Regions from separate parts of the Homo sapiens genome. Here region 2 is linked to region 1. The links are contacts of gene promoters, found by promoter capture Hi-C in blood cells and fetal thymus (Javierre and others, 2016). All regions are on one chromosome and are shown on one strand. Each heading gives the region's core, a stretch centred on a gene start or on the middle of the fragment in contact. The rest is flanking DNA. Distances are from core to core; before and after follow the strand shown. Region 1 holds the start of POGLUT3 (protein O-glucosyltransferase 3). Region 2 overlaps ALKBH8 (alkB homolog 8, tRNA methyltransferase).

The links. The method cuts DNA at HindIII sites, captures the fragments that hold promoters and counts their contacts. A CHiCAGO score of 5 or more calls a contact.
Region 2: a fragment that was not itself captured here is called in contact with the fragment with the promoter of POGLUT3 in region 1 in 2 of 17 cell types (total CD4 T cells and naive CD8 T cells); the score reaches 6.1 in total CD4 T cells.

Annotation. Positions count from the first base shown.
Region 1 is chr11:108,494,821-108,501,957 of GRCh38, forward strand. It overlaps POGLUT3 (protein O-glucosyltransferase 3), which reads right to left and starts at 3,564. Exons shown (of 8, transcript NM_153705.5): 1 at 3,345-3,564. The coding sequence starts at 3,546. It overlaps LOC112267909 (a long non-coding RNA gene), which reads left to right and starts at 4,241. Exons shown (of 3, transcript XR_007062880.1): 1 at 4,241-4,830. RefSeq lists a silencer at 3,197-3,716. The HindIII fragment of the contact is 8,220 bases long and covers 1-5,327 here.
Region 2 is chr11:107,555,168-107,561,792 of GRCh38, forward strand. It overlaps ALKBH8 (alkB homolog 8, tRNA methyltransferase), which reads right to left. Exons shown (of 12, transcript NM_138775.3): 2 at 5,598-5,732; 3 at 1,599-1,836. The coding sequence starts at 5,726. Among named protein-coding and RNA genes, the nearest start is that of ALKBH8, 7.3 kb to the right of the region's middle. The HindIII fragment of the contact is 2,049 bases long and covers 2,215-4,263 here.

The DNA.
Region 1 (7,137 bases), core at 2,314-4,813:
TTTCATCTACAATAGTTACTCAGCATCTCTAGCAAGCATTGTGCTAGAGACTGGGAATATAATAGTATCAACAGGTACTGCCTACATTCATAATTGAAGGAAATGTTCAATTTAAGCAGGAGTTTACTGAAAATAAAGATACAGTTCTTCCCCCCACCCAAGGACAAAGACCCTATAATTTCTGTTTGTGAACCCCAGTTTGAGATGTCCTGCTTTAGATCACTGAAGTTCACAATATTTTTGTTATCTGGGTACTTGGATATATGTAGCATAATAGTGGCATTCAGGGAAATTCTACACTGTCGAATGGGAGTGATAATAAGGGAAACTTTCTAAGTTGTGTACAACAGGCTACAGCTTGAGAAGATTTTTCCTCTTTTCCAATTAGTTCTTTTGTGTGTGTGCAGTGGCACAATCTCAGCTCAATGCAACTGCAGCCTCCCAGGCTCAAGAGATCCTCCCACCTCAGCCTCCCCAGTAGCTGGGACCACAGCTGTGCACTACCACGCCTGGCTGATATTTTGGATTTTTTTGGTAGATGGGTTTTGCCATGTTGCCCAGACTGGTCTCAAACTTCTGAGTTCAGGCAGTCTACCAGCCTTGGCCTCCCAAAGTGCTGAGATTACAAGGCATGAATAACCAGCTATTCAGTTGGTTCTTGAAGAGGGAAAGACTTCAGGACTTGGAAGTGAATGTTGGTGGCAGAAATGTAAGAAACTAGTTGGGTGAGTTTTCAGAACTATACGGCACCTTTTTAACTGGAAGCCAGAAATCAAGAGGCCTGAAAGGAAACAAAGGGAATCCAAAGGAATGAAAGTAAGGTTGTCCAAAAAGTTCCATTTTATTTATTTATTTAGAGAAAGGGTCTTGCTATGTTGCCCGGGCTGGAGTGCAGTGGCACAATCATAATGCACTGCAACCTTGAGCTCCTGGGCTCAACTGATCCTTCTGCCTCAGCCTCCCAAGTAGGTAATTTTTAAAATTTTTATTTTAAGTAGAGATGGAATCTTGCTATGTTGCCCAGGCTGAGAAGTCTTTCTAAGACTAAAAAAGGTAAAAAAAGAAAAGTCACAGATCACAGGGGTAAACCATGCAGAATCATAAATGTAACTTTCCTTCTGTTAAGATATTTAATAGAAACTGTCTGTAAACTTTTTCGTTTGTTTAAATATATTTATGTATATATAATATATGTACATATAAAACATATACACAACTTTAAGTCATGTATCATTTGGATTTTAACTGAGAGTCTTTAACATACATTAGAGATTGACAAACTAGCTAATCCAGCTCAGTGCCTGTTTTTGTAAATCCTGTAAGCTAACAATGATTCTTATATTTTTAAAATGGGGATGGGCATGGTGGATTATGCCTGTAATCCCAGCATTTGGGGAGACTGAGGCAAGAGGATCCCTTGAGGCCAGGAATTTGAGGCTGCAGTAGCTATGACTGTACCACTGCACTGCATCCTGGGTGACAAAGACCTTGTCTCTTAAAAAAAAAAAAGGAGGAGGGGGGTTGGAGAAAAATCAAAATAATAATATTCTGTGACTTATGGAAAACTATATGAAATTGAAATTTCAGTGGCCATAAAAAGTTTTATTGTAACATAAACGGGTTTGTTATATGTCCATGGCTACAAAGCACAGCTGAATAAATGTGAGAGATGATATCACCTACAAAGCCTAAATTATTTACTATCTGGCCCTTTAAAGAAAAAGTTTGTGAAACCCTGATATACACACATGCGTTTCTGTCAATAGAGTCGGAATTATTTTACCTAAATGCATATCATGCATATGAAACCAGTTGTCTGAGTATTTAGGGTCTAACTGGTAGACACGTTATCAAAGCAATGCCCAAAGACAACTTCAGGAGTGGTGTTCTGAATCAAATGTAGAAAACAAGCCACTGAGGTAGTTAAGGGAGAGGCAGATTCTTGCCTCAGCTCAAATTTCTCCAGTGGCTCTCTTTTATCTAGTTATAAAGTCATTTGCTTGGCATTCAAGGCGCTTGAAGACCAGAGGCTACAATCAACCAGGCTTTTCCGCTCAGTATCATTAAATTACAGTACTTATTTTCCCGAACACCACGGTCTCCTACGCCTCTGTGCTTCTGCACATGCCATGGCGTCCTTCTATATGCCTGCCCAGCAAACCTTCTCATCCTTCAAGTCTCTGCTCCTGAAATCTTCCTGGATTTCTCCAGTCTCTGGCAGTGCTTCAATGTTGCCACTGCACTCTGTACATACCTTCAATTATCTTGTACAGTGATCAGTTATTTGCATGTCTTTGACCAACAGACTGTAAGTTCCTTGATGGTCAGGCATTGTCTTTTCATCCTTAGATTCCCAGCAGAATTACCAAACACAGAAGTAGACATCAAAGAAGTATTTCTTGAATGAATGAAATTTTAAAAATCATTAAATCTAAAAGTGAATTATGTTTGGTTCCTAAATTCTCTGCTTTGCCCAGCTGTCAAGACCCCCTTACCCCTTTCCCAAGTTGGGACACACTTCTGGCAGCTATGTTCCCAGCTGGACTAGCAGGGGCAGAGGCACTGGTTTATTCTAATTGTCTCTTCGCTGATACAACAAGGTGCTAGTTGGCCAGAGCCCCAAATTATACATTAGCAAATCCTGACTGACAACAGCGTGAAACCAGCAGGACAAGTTTTAAGAAGTTGCAAAGGTTAAGACGTGAAGGACAACGTGGGAGGAGGACCGGGCAGAAAGGGATTCAGGACGAGATCCATCTCACCCTCCGTGGAGGGAAAACCGAATGATTTCTACTGAGTTTCCCTAGTTCCTGTAATCTGCTTTCAAAAACTCAGAACTAAAAAGGAAACAAAAAACTAACACGTAAACCCCTCCTCCTTCCTACGGCTCTGACATTTCCTCTGCGTAGGATTTCGTTGCTCCAAACCCACCAGGCCTAAGCCATGTAATCCGACGCGATCCGTCGGCTTGATGACTCACCACTGGAAAGCGCTCCCTGCAATCCCTCACAGTTCAGACAACTAAGTCCGAGATGGAAGGCAACGTGTGACTCACGGCACACTCCTTGTAACGCCCGGGCGCCGTCCATTCGCAACATCAGTCCCTGCACATTAAATGCGGAAGGGCCCTTCAAGTTCATTCATTCATTCATTCCACAAACTTTCGTGGTGATTTTTGCCCGCTTTGAGTATGGGCGGGAGGAGGGAAGAGGAGCTGACCAGACCCAAAAAGGGGCGACACACGCCGGGGAGGGACGCCACGCAGGCCGCGGGCGGACTCCCGGGCGGCGGGGACGCGCGGGGACCCGGCCGCGGGACGAGGGAGGCCGGCGGCTGGACACTACCTGCGGGAGAGCGAGTGAGGTTCTGGCCCTCCGAGTTGACCGCCTGCAGGTAGAAATAGCGGACCGGCAGGACGACGGCCGCCTGCAGCCCGGGCCCCCACACCAGGCTCCGCGGCGCGCTGACCAGCACCTCCGGGGCCCCCGCGGCCACCAGCAGGGCGAGGCGCAGCTGCAGCAGCAGGGCCCGCGGGAGGCGGCGCATGGTCGGCGGGGCACAACTGCGGTCCAGCTCCGCGGCGGCGAGGAGGGGCCGGCAGCGCCGCGGACCGGGCGGGGACTGGGGCCCACCGCGGGGCGGGTCTTTCGGGCGGGAAAGATTGCGGCGCAGGCTCCCTTTCCCGCCCGCTGTCCCGCCTCGTCTCCCTCGGGCGGGAACGCGAGCCAGTGCCGCAATCACCCACTGCGCGCCCTGTAGGGGTCGACGATGGGTGCGCCCCTTCCTCCCCGCAGCCCCATAGGCCCCGTGGAGGAAAGGGGTGGAGAGGCCCGCCCAGAGACCGAGGCTGCGAGTGTGCGCTGGCTGTTGATTGCCAAGGCTTCAGGCACGCCTGGCCTCCACTTCCAGTGGTCTTTCCCTTTCTTTTTCTTCCTTCCTTTCCTTCTTTCTTCTCTTTTCTTTCTCTGTTTTTATACAGACAAGGGGGCTGGCTCTGTCGCCTAGGCTGGAGTGCAATGGCGCGACCACAGCTCACTGCAGCCTGGAACTCGTGGGCTCAGGAGATCCTCCCGCCTCAGCCTCCCGAGTAGCTGGGACTGACTGTAGGCACACGACACCACGCTGGCTAATTTAATTTATTATTATTATTATTATTATTATTATTATTATTATTATTACTATTACTATTTGTAGAGACGGGGTCTCCCTATGTTGCCCAAGGTGGTCTTGAACTCCTGGTTTCAAGCAATCCGCCCGCCTCGGCTTCCCAAAGTGCCGGGATTACAGGCATGAGCCACCGGGTCCGCCGCTCAGGTGTTTTTAAAGGACGTAGACCCGGTGGTGATTGTTGTGGGACGATGAAAGGGTCCGGCCCCAAGATCGATGTAGTTTAGGGAAATATCTTTTCCCAAGGAATGTCTCCGAGTTTACAAGATGAGCGCCAAGGTCACGCCCCCCGCCCTCCCTCACAGCCCTCTGTTCACAGCAGCACCGTTCTCTTGTGGCCGGTTTTGTTGCTTTTCTGCTTAGCAGCCTCCCTCACAGAACCGTGATCCCCCCACCCCACACATCCCTTTCCCCGCTTCCTCCCGCACTCCTCTTCTTCCAGCAGGTGTTTACAGAACATCCACGGAGTTTGGGCCAAGCCCAGAGTGAGGAGCTGGGCACTGGGGTGGCAGAAGACCAGGCCTTGCCTTGAGCCCTTGTGCGAGCTTTACCTCAAAGCCTCTGTAATCGAAGTGGGAGAAGGGGTGGTGGTGCGTGGTTGGTCTCAGCCACCTCCACCACTCCTCAGAAGATGAACGCTGGATCCAGGAAGAGATTGTCAAGGTTACTATCTGCCTCTCTTTTTTGATCATTTTATCCAATTTGTTAATGGATACAAATTTGTTAATGGATTGTTAATAGATCTGAATTTATTTAAAGCCAATAAAGATTCTCCTCTGGCTGAATGATCCAGAAGGAACTCACACCCCAGAATGGACACAGGATTTCTGCACCCTCTTGGGGGAACTTAATGCCCAAAACATCAGAGCCAGGCACTGGACAAGCCTTTGTCCGCCTCACGGCTTTAACCGTGCTACTCAGCATTCTTGCTGTGACCAAGTTTTACCAGGGCAAAATCTTTCCCACATTTTCACACTTCTCTTGACCTATTTTAGTAATGCTAAGCAGTGGTTATGGACAGTATTCTTTGTACTTTGGAAAGGTTTCAGGAACTGGTAGTCAGTTGCCGGTAAATTTTAGGGCTAAAGTGTAACATTACTTGGTATTACTTTCACTGATAAATTTTATTTTGTGGGGATGTCTCCTTGCTTTAAATAGAAAGCTTTGCTCTGTTCCAACTATCGCTTAAAAAAATTGTATGGAACACATTTTGCTCACACTCTTTCAAAATCTGACTTAAAACAATTTCCAGAGAAATAATCTGAGGTTTAGCCGGTACTGGATTATAGTAAAACATGGCCTAATAAATTACATAACATTTGGGTTAACACCCAGTATTTTTTTTTTTTTGAGAACACGTCAGGGAAGCCATATAATTGTACCTGAACACACTAGCGTTTAGCAATACTAAGCCTGCACCAACCTGTTTTCTTTCTCATCTTAACCTGTCTCCAAAGAGTATATCTCTTCAGAGCAACCAGTGCTTTGACCAGACTCTTTATCATTAATCAAATTTCATTCATTCAACACATATTTATTAAATGCCCACCATATTTTAGATATTGTATTTTGACTTCAAAGTGCCTGTAGTTTAGTGGAGAAGAAAGACTAAGAGGCAATGTAAATAGCGTATAGGTGTTAAAATATGGGCCTCAAGAACTGCATGGTCTAGGATTTTATCCCACTTACAAACTAACAAGTTGGCCTGTTACTGTTTCATGGATGCTGTCAAAAGATACAACACTCCTGTATCAAAGAACTTTATTATTCACTGCAAAAGCAGTAGCCAGAGCTTTATGTTGGTTTGCTTTTTGTTCCTAAGCCTCCCAAGCCCTGTGGGGACAGTGCACACAGACTATGATGGATGCCTGAAGTGGGTTGCATTACAAGAGAGGAGCACTGAGCTAAAGGAATTTGCCTCTTTTAGGCTACACAGAATTAAGCCTGCTCTTTGAAGGTGGGGAGATGTTATCTCATCCCTCAAACGTTGCTTGCTACAAACACCGCCCAGAGAAATGGACTGATAAAGAGCTGGACATTGGAGTGGCAGAACAGCAAGAATGATCAGAGAAGTTCAAGGGCCATGGCAGAGAGCCTTTTCCAACATAGTACAGTGTACTTATACACTACATATGAAGGCCAGCTAATCTAGTCTTGGGAGAACCAAGAGAGGCTTCTGAAAGAGATGACATCTATGCCGAACCTTGAAGGTCAAACAGGAATCAGCCACATAAAGAGAAGGAGGAGAGCATTCTGGATAGCAGGAACATCATGTATAAAACTTTGAAGTAAACGATACACTCCGAGAAGTTTTTCATTCCCTTTCACATTCATCTCCATATTGAACTCCAATCTCAAACACCTATAATTAAAGTCAGTGTGTGACTCTGGAAGGTCTAGATTCAATACACTTCTGTGAATTGCAGTGGCCTCTGGAATCTTTACATTAATGTCACATAAAATTCACAGCTAATTATTGTCGACTCAGTTCATAACATTTCCACCTTTTCGGTAACTCTTCTTTTTTTACTCCACAGTCCGCCTGGTTAACAGTGAGGCTTTGTAACAGCATAACTTTAACTATGGCTACAGTTTATTGGCTCCTATTTTGGAAACTGACTCATGCTGAACTAATCCCCTTTCCCTGGGAGTTTAAAATCAAGGTTAGGAGATTTTTAACGTACCGACTGCTCTCCAACAGCAGCATTATAACCTTTGCTATTTTTTTCCCTTGTATTCTGAAAATAGAAGAGAAATACAGAAAACTCTCTGGGTTATGTATAGTGCACTAGAGTCTGGTACAGTTCATGAGCAGCGTCTCTATCTCTGGTTTCTGAGACATCCTTGCATCCTTATAATAAATTCCTCTTTAACTTTAGAAATTGTGTAATTTTCTTTCTTTAATTTTTATTTATTCATTTATTTTATTTTATTTTGATGGACTCTCGCTCTGTCAGCCAGGCTGGAGTG
Region 2 (6,625 bases), core at 1,989-4,488, 940 kb before region 1:
GAGAATGGTGTGAACCCGGGAGGTGGAGCTTGCAGTGAGCTGAGATCGTGCCACTGCACTCCAGCCTAGGTGAAAGAGCAGGACTCTGTCTCAAAAAAAAATAAAAAAAACTATTTGTGACACACTTCTGTTCTCAATTAAAAATGACTTTCAAGGTTATAAATGTGATTGCCAGAGCCTTAAAAGTACATATGGATCTAATGAAGAATTTCAAATAAAGAGCACTCCAAAACTTACTTTGTGCAATTTCTTACTGAATATTCACCATGGAGGACGGGGGTAAACCCAATGACTATTTTCTGATTAAAACTTACTCCTCAGCCACTCAGTTTTCAAAAACTGACCAGAAACATGTAAAACATGAGGATAATCTAGTTTCCAAAATATGTAAAGCTTAAGTCAGATTTAAAATTAAATGCATATGAGCACTGAGAAATATAGTTTCTAAAATATACCTTTAAAAGAGTCTGTAAAAGTTTTCCTTCGAGTCTTATTTTACAAAAACATAAATTTGAGCAGATTATAGTCACCTACCCACTCCTAGGATATCTAAAACAGGGCTCTTTTACTGCCTAAATAGGTGGCAAATGAATATATGATTAGATGTTTAAATCTAAGTTCATCTCAATACATCTCATTTTCATGGGGCAGAAGTAATAATTCCTGTACAATTCTGTAAATCAATATATAAAGCTATACTTATTTAATTAAATTATTCAGTTCCTCAATCAGACTATCCAGTGGCTATTGAACTGGGCAGCACAGACAGGAACATTTCTACCATCACAGGAAGTTCTACTGGACAGCACCACCATAAAGTTTTAGGAATCAGCCGGGCACGGTGGCTCACGCCTGTAATCCCAGCACTTTGGGAGGCCAAGGCAGGCGGATTACGAGGTCAGGAGTTCGAGGCCAGACTGGCCAACACGGTGAAACCCCATCTCTACTAAAAATACAAAAATTAGCCAGGCATGGTGGCACATGCCTGTAATCCCAGCTACTTAGGAGGCTGAGGCAGGAGAATTGCTTGAACCCGGGAGGTGGAGGTTGCAGTGAGCCGAGATTGTGCCATTGCACTCCAGCCTGGGCAACAAGAGCAAAACTCTGTCTCAAAAAGCAAAAAAATAAATAAATAAATAAAAATAAAGTTTTAGGAATCTTTGGTAGCTACAGGTGTTCTGCTATAAATATGAAGATTGGTACATGATCATTTGGATCACGATTCATTCTTAAGTGATTAATTCAAAGCTCCTGGGTAGATATGTGAAATAAACTAGTAATGCAAACCCTCATTATTAAATTTTGAAAAACACAATTAGGCAGGAGGGTTCCAAAATAAGCCATGTGCCTAATAAATATATTGTTGACTGGTGGGACTAGCTTTGTAAAGGCAGGTTGTATCTTATTCACCTCTGTACTGTCAACTACTTGTCCCATGCCTGGCACAAATAGGTGCTTAAAGAATGTTTGTTAAAGTAAAAGGAGCTGCTAACCTGCTTCCTCATTTTGTTTCACAATAACTGAACCTCCCAACTTAAGTCTATGAAAAGAAAACACCCAGAAGAATCATTTTTTAAAAGATAATTGTATGATAATACCTTTTTCCACAAAATTCAAATACAGAGTGATCTTTTGTCCTAAATCATCCACTACTTCTTTTCCATTGAGGGTAACATAGGCTCTCTTAGATTCTTCTGTAGTTCTGTATCTTGCAAATGAGTACGGCTTGTTAGGTGGCATTAAGAGAGCATCCACCAGTCCACATTTCTCTAAAACCGGGAGCAGCTGGTTCCGACTCACACCATTACCCAAACCACCATTGGCAACAACCAGGCTCTTAAAAAACAAACAAACAAACAAAAAGAAAGTAACATGAGCAACTGATACCAACCCATTTGTTTTAAAATAAGATTTTTTTTAAAAAAGATGTAATTAAGAAAAAAAAAGCATTTCCTTGTAGTGGTTGTTTGGTTTGCTAATTTCATACAAAGTATGTAAACCAATTTACTAAAAATTTGGGGAATAAAAAGGACTCCTATATTGTAAATTGTGTTGTTTAAATAGCCAATTTCACAAAATATTCATTTCTAAATGACCATAAATGCAAATTAAAACATGACTATTATTCAGAAATATAAATTTAACATAATGAAAGAGGTGGAGAGGAGAAAGGACAGTTACATAACACTTGCTTTTTGGCAAGACTGTTCTATAAGCTTTTATCTACTCAATCCTCATTAACATAATCTTCACAACATATTGAATTTATTTGGGTAATATCAGCCCAATTTCATAGAAGAAGATCTGACAAATTAGGTTAAGGTGGTGATTAGGGGTGGGTTTAAACCTATTTCTGTCCGTTTCCAGGATCCGCACTTTTAATATAACCATTATACAATGTTTACTAAAAATTAAAAGTAAAGGTACTATTACCTCAAAGAAAAACCAATTATAGCTTCTATTGAACATAATTAGGAAAAAATTTTCCTCTAAGGAAATTCAGACTAAGTAATTCAGTCAGTTCACAATGAAAACTTTTTCCTTTGTAAGTTTCACGATTACTTCCTGCTGTTTGCATAGTCCTGCACTAAACTTTATTCAAGGAAATTTTGCAGGGATGAAAGAGGAGTCTCTTATTTTTATTCTGATGTTCATGGTCTAGCACCCATATAGTCTCTATACTTAACCATTCTATACAATGTAAAGATTTTTAATTTATGTTCTATGACTTCTAAAAACATTTCAATATAACAAAAGAAAGCCATGGATGGCCTACTCTCATCAATTTCTTCATTTATACCAGGTGTTGATGACGTTTTTCTGAGAAGAGGTAGATAGTAAATATTTTAGGCTTGGCAGGCCATAAAAGTTTCTGTCAGATAGTCTTAGTATTATTTTTTAACACTTTAAGAATGTAAAACTCATTATTTTGGTCACAACCCTGATTTAGTCTAAGGACAGTAGTTTGCCAACCCTTAATTTATACTAAGCTCAGTGATAGTACATTGTGTATTGGTTTATTACACAAAATAAGAATACCTAGAACTTTGTTTGAAAAGGATATAAAAGAATTATTATGAAATTGGACAATAAGGAAAGTAAAACTGTTTTGTCATGGGACAGCCAGTACTTTGTATGCATGCAAGCATATACATACATAATAAACAAGCCCACTAATACAATACTATATGATATGGAGTAAAATGGAGTCTCAGATGGCTTGCCCTGGACCTCACTTAATGAGGTTTATTAATTAAAATACCAAAATAACTTGGTTATATGTGGCCATAGTTGCAAAAACATTCCCATATTCCTAAATCTATGGAAGAGCAAAGGTTTCATTGGTGTTGAGGGTCCACTACCCCATCTAGGAATGGAAGATGATGAAGTATGACTTCAGGAATACTAGAAGTCCTCTAAGATGCCGTCTGAGTGTTTTGTGGGCAACTCTAAAGGTAAACCACACAAAAACAAGTGCGGTAGAAGAGGAGAGGAACTTATTTTCCATTAAATGTGAGATACATATAATTAAATGTCATAACTAAATGTAATATAATTAATGCAATAATTAAATGGAACTATTATTTTATTTATAATTGTTCAAGCAATTTTCTAAATAAGGAGGAGTATGTATGAAGTAGAGAATGTGAATTTTTTTTAAGTTATCTTTGGTCCTGACAATTTGAGGATCATTGCTCTAGAAAAATCTGTAATGCCATAAATTTGTACAAAGGAGCCTAAAATTATAATACATCCGATATGGTTTGGCGTGTCCCCACCCAAATCTCATCTTGAATTTTAGCTCCCATAATTCCCACATTTTGTGGGAGGGACCCACTGGGAAATAATTGAATCATGGGGGCCATTTCCCCTATAATGTTCTCGTGGTAGTGAATAAGTCTCATGAGATCTGATGGTTTTATAAGGGGTTTCCCCTTTCGCTTGGCTCTCATTCTTTCTTGCCTGCCGCCATGTAAGCCAGGACTTTCGCCTTCTGCCACGATTGTGAGGCCTCCCCGGCCACGTGGAACTGTGGGTTCATTAAACCTCTTTCTCTTTAAAAAATTACCCAGTCTCGGGTATGTCTTTATCAGCAGCATGACAACAGACTAATACAATATCATTAAAACAATATTTGCTCTCCCCTGGAAAGATAAAATATAATTAGAGGTCCATCTACAATTTTATTCTTTTCCTTTAAGAATATGGAGAAAAAAGAAAGCCTAAATAAAATGCTACTTTGGAAGCCATGAAGGACATCAAAGCTTCTAGAGATCCTAAAGAAAAGGCAGACCCAACCAGAAACAAGCTTCAGAGGGGTCAAAGAAATGGAGCCTATTTTTTTTTTCTTGCTACTTCTCTTCATAAACCCTGTAAGGAAAGGAACACAAGTCACTCTTGGAAAGTGATGAGAGCAGTGTATGTCAGTTTAATCTTCTGAATGTCTCACAGCCTCAGTGGCTCTTGACTGAAACAGTAAAGTGTATGCAAACATATTAATTCTAATCTATTATCTATTTCATCCTTGCTATAGGAATGTGGCTTAAATTCTCTGAAGACATTAATATTTAACTCCAAGTATGGGCCTTTTACCTCCTAAATTCAAATGTGCCTCAACAGACTGCTCATTCTCAAGCTATGATGTTGTACAGAAGACAGCATAGTAAGCATTAAGGCAAGAGTATTGGTCTGAGAGTTGAGAGGCCTAAGTTTTAATCCCTGCTCCACCTTCTCAATTGTATGTCCACCCCTCAATTAAATGATATCTAAAGCTTACTTTCTACTTTTATTCTATAACTTTATGAGCCAAAAAGATAAGAACTCCTTATATTCATGGAGTAATTTAATGTCCAGTAAGTACAATTAGATTCTCTGGAATCTAACAATCTAATGGGGTTAAAAAGGTATGCAATACTATGCCCTGCTTAAAAATGAAGAAAGCTGAGGTCAGAGGATACTACTACTCGTGTCCAGAAAAGCTAAGAGTTAAACTGAGTTCTCCTAATTCATAACCCAGGAAATCTCACGATCCTCACATTTATCATCTCATTTAATTATTGTCCGCAGATAATGAAAAGACTTTGTTAATAAGGTCTAATAAAATAAAAATGTTTAACAGCACATAATCAAAATACTTTATAAAACAGGTTAAGGTTGGGAAGAGAAGAACAAGGGCTGTAGTAGGATATGGAAGATCTAGCTTTAAGTTTCTATTAGCTACTTACTAGCTTATATCAATGGAGACATATCATAACCTCTCAGAACTTTAGTTTTCTCACCTATCTCATAAGGACTTCTAGGGAATTAAATATAATAATGAATATAAGTATGCTTAGGAAACTGAGAAACTTGCACAGTATTATTATTAATATATAACTACAACCTCTTCTAGTTCAAACAACAAAATAAATAGAAATGCAAACTATAGGCTATGGACCAAAATAGAAAGTTAGCAGTTCATATCATATGTACCTCTAATATGGATGTAACACATGACTGAACAATTACAGCCTTAGGCAATTATTAGCAAATATTAATATAATACATTAACATGTCAGTACATTTACATTCTAATAATAATAGTAGTTTTAGGTCACCTGAGTGGCATAGGATACTGTCTCAATGCCTTCATGTCTCAGCAAAGTATGCTTGGCTTTAATCTGTTTCCTTAAGAACTTCTTCTCAGTTTTACTGAGTTTGTAATTACTTTGATGGTTGCTGTCCATAGCAAACTGTAAAAAAACAAGACAGTAAAAAAGTCAACCTTAAGAGTCCTGAAGGAACAATTATAATGATGTTATTCATACATTCTATAGTTTATCAATATTTCTGTGACAATTTTTTAAAAATGCTTCATTTACCTTGTACCAACTAAGAGAAGTGAGAACAGATAAATAAAAAATGAACAAATATCTAAGAATATCTAATAGCATAGCTCTGATGGTTCTAAAAAATGTTCCAATGTGGTAGCTCCATTAAGTGTGCTATTTTACTCATAGGTGATGAATTCTTTACTTATGAGGTCCTAAGTAAAATGTGCCATACACAAATTTCACAACTATAACGTAAACCAAGGCAAGGAGCAGGCAGGGGAGCGGTGGGGGGAGAAATAACACACAAAAAATTAGCAGACTCTACAGTATGATTCCATTTACATAAAGGTCATAATCAAAAAGTAAGCCATATATTATTTAGAAATACATACATAGCAGTGCCAAAAAAAAAAGCAAGGAAATTATAAACACAAAATTCAGGAGAGAGGCTATTTCTGTGGGTGAAAGGAAAGGAAATTAACATGAAAGTGACACATAGGAGCATCAAAGGGTGTTTCTTCAGTTACATGGTAGGTGTAGGTGTTTGTTTTACTATTTTAAAAACTGTATGTGTCATATATTTTATATCTACAATTTTTTAAATAACAGAATCCCAAAGAGGTCTCTATAATCACACCATCCAAATCAGCACCCAATATCATGCTTTATCACACTTTATCACAGTAGTCTTTTATTTTGTTCACAAAATGTAACATAATTTGTGATGATTCATCTGTTAGCTTAACTCCTCCATCATGATATAAATCCCAAGAGAGCAGGAATGCCAGCACATAGTAGTTGCTCAATAAATA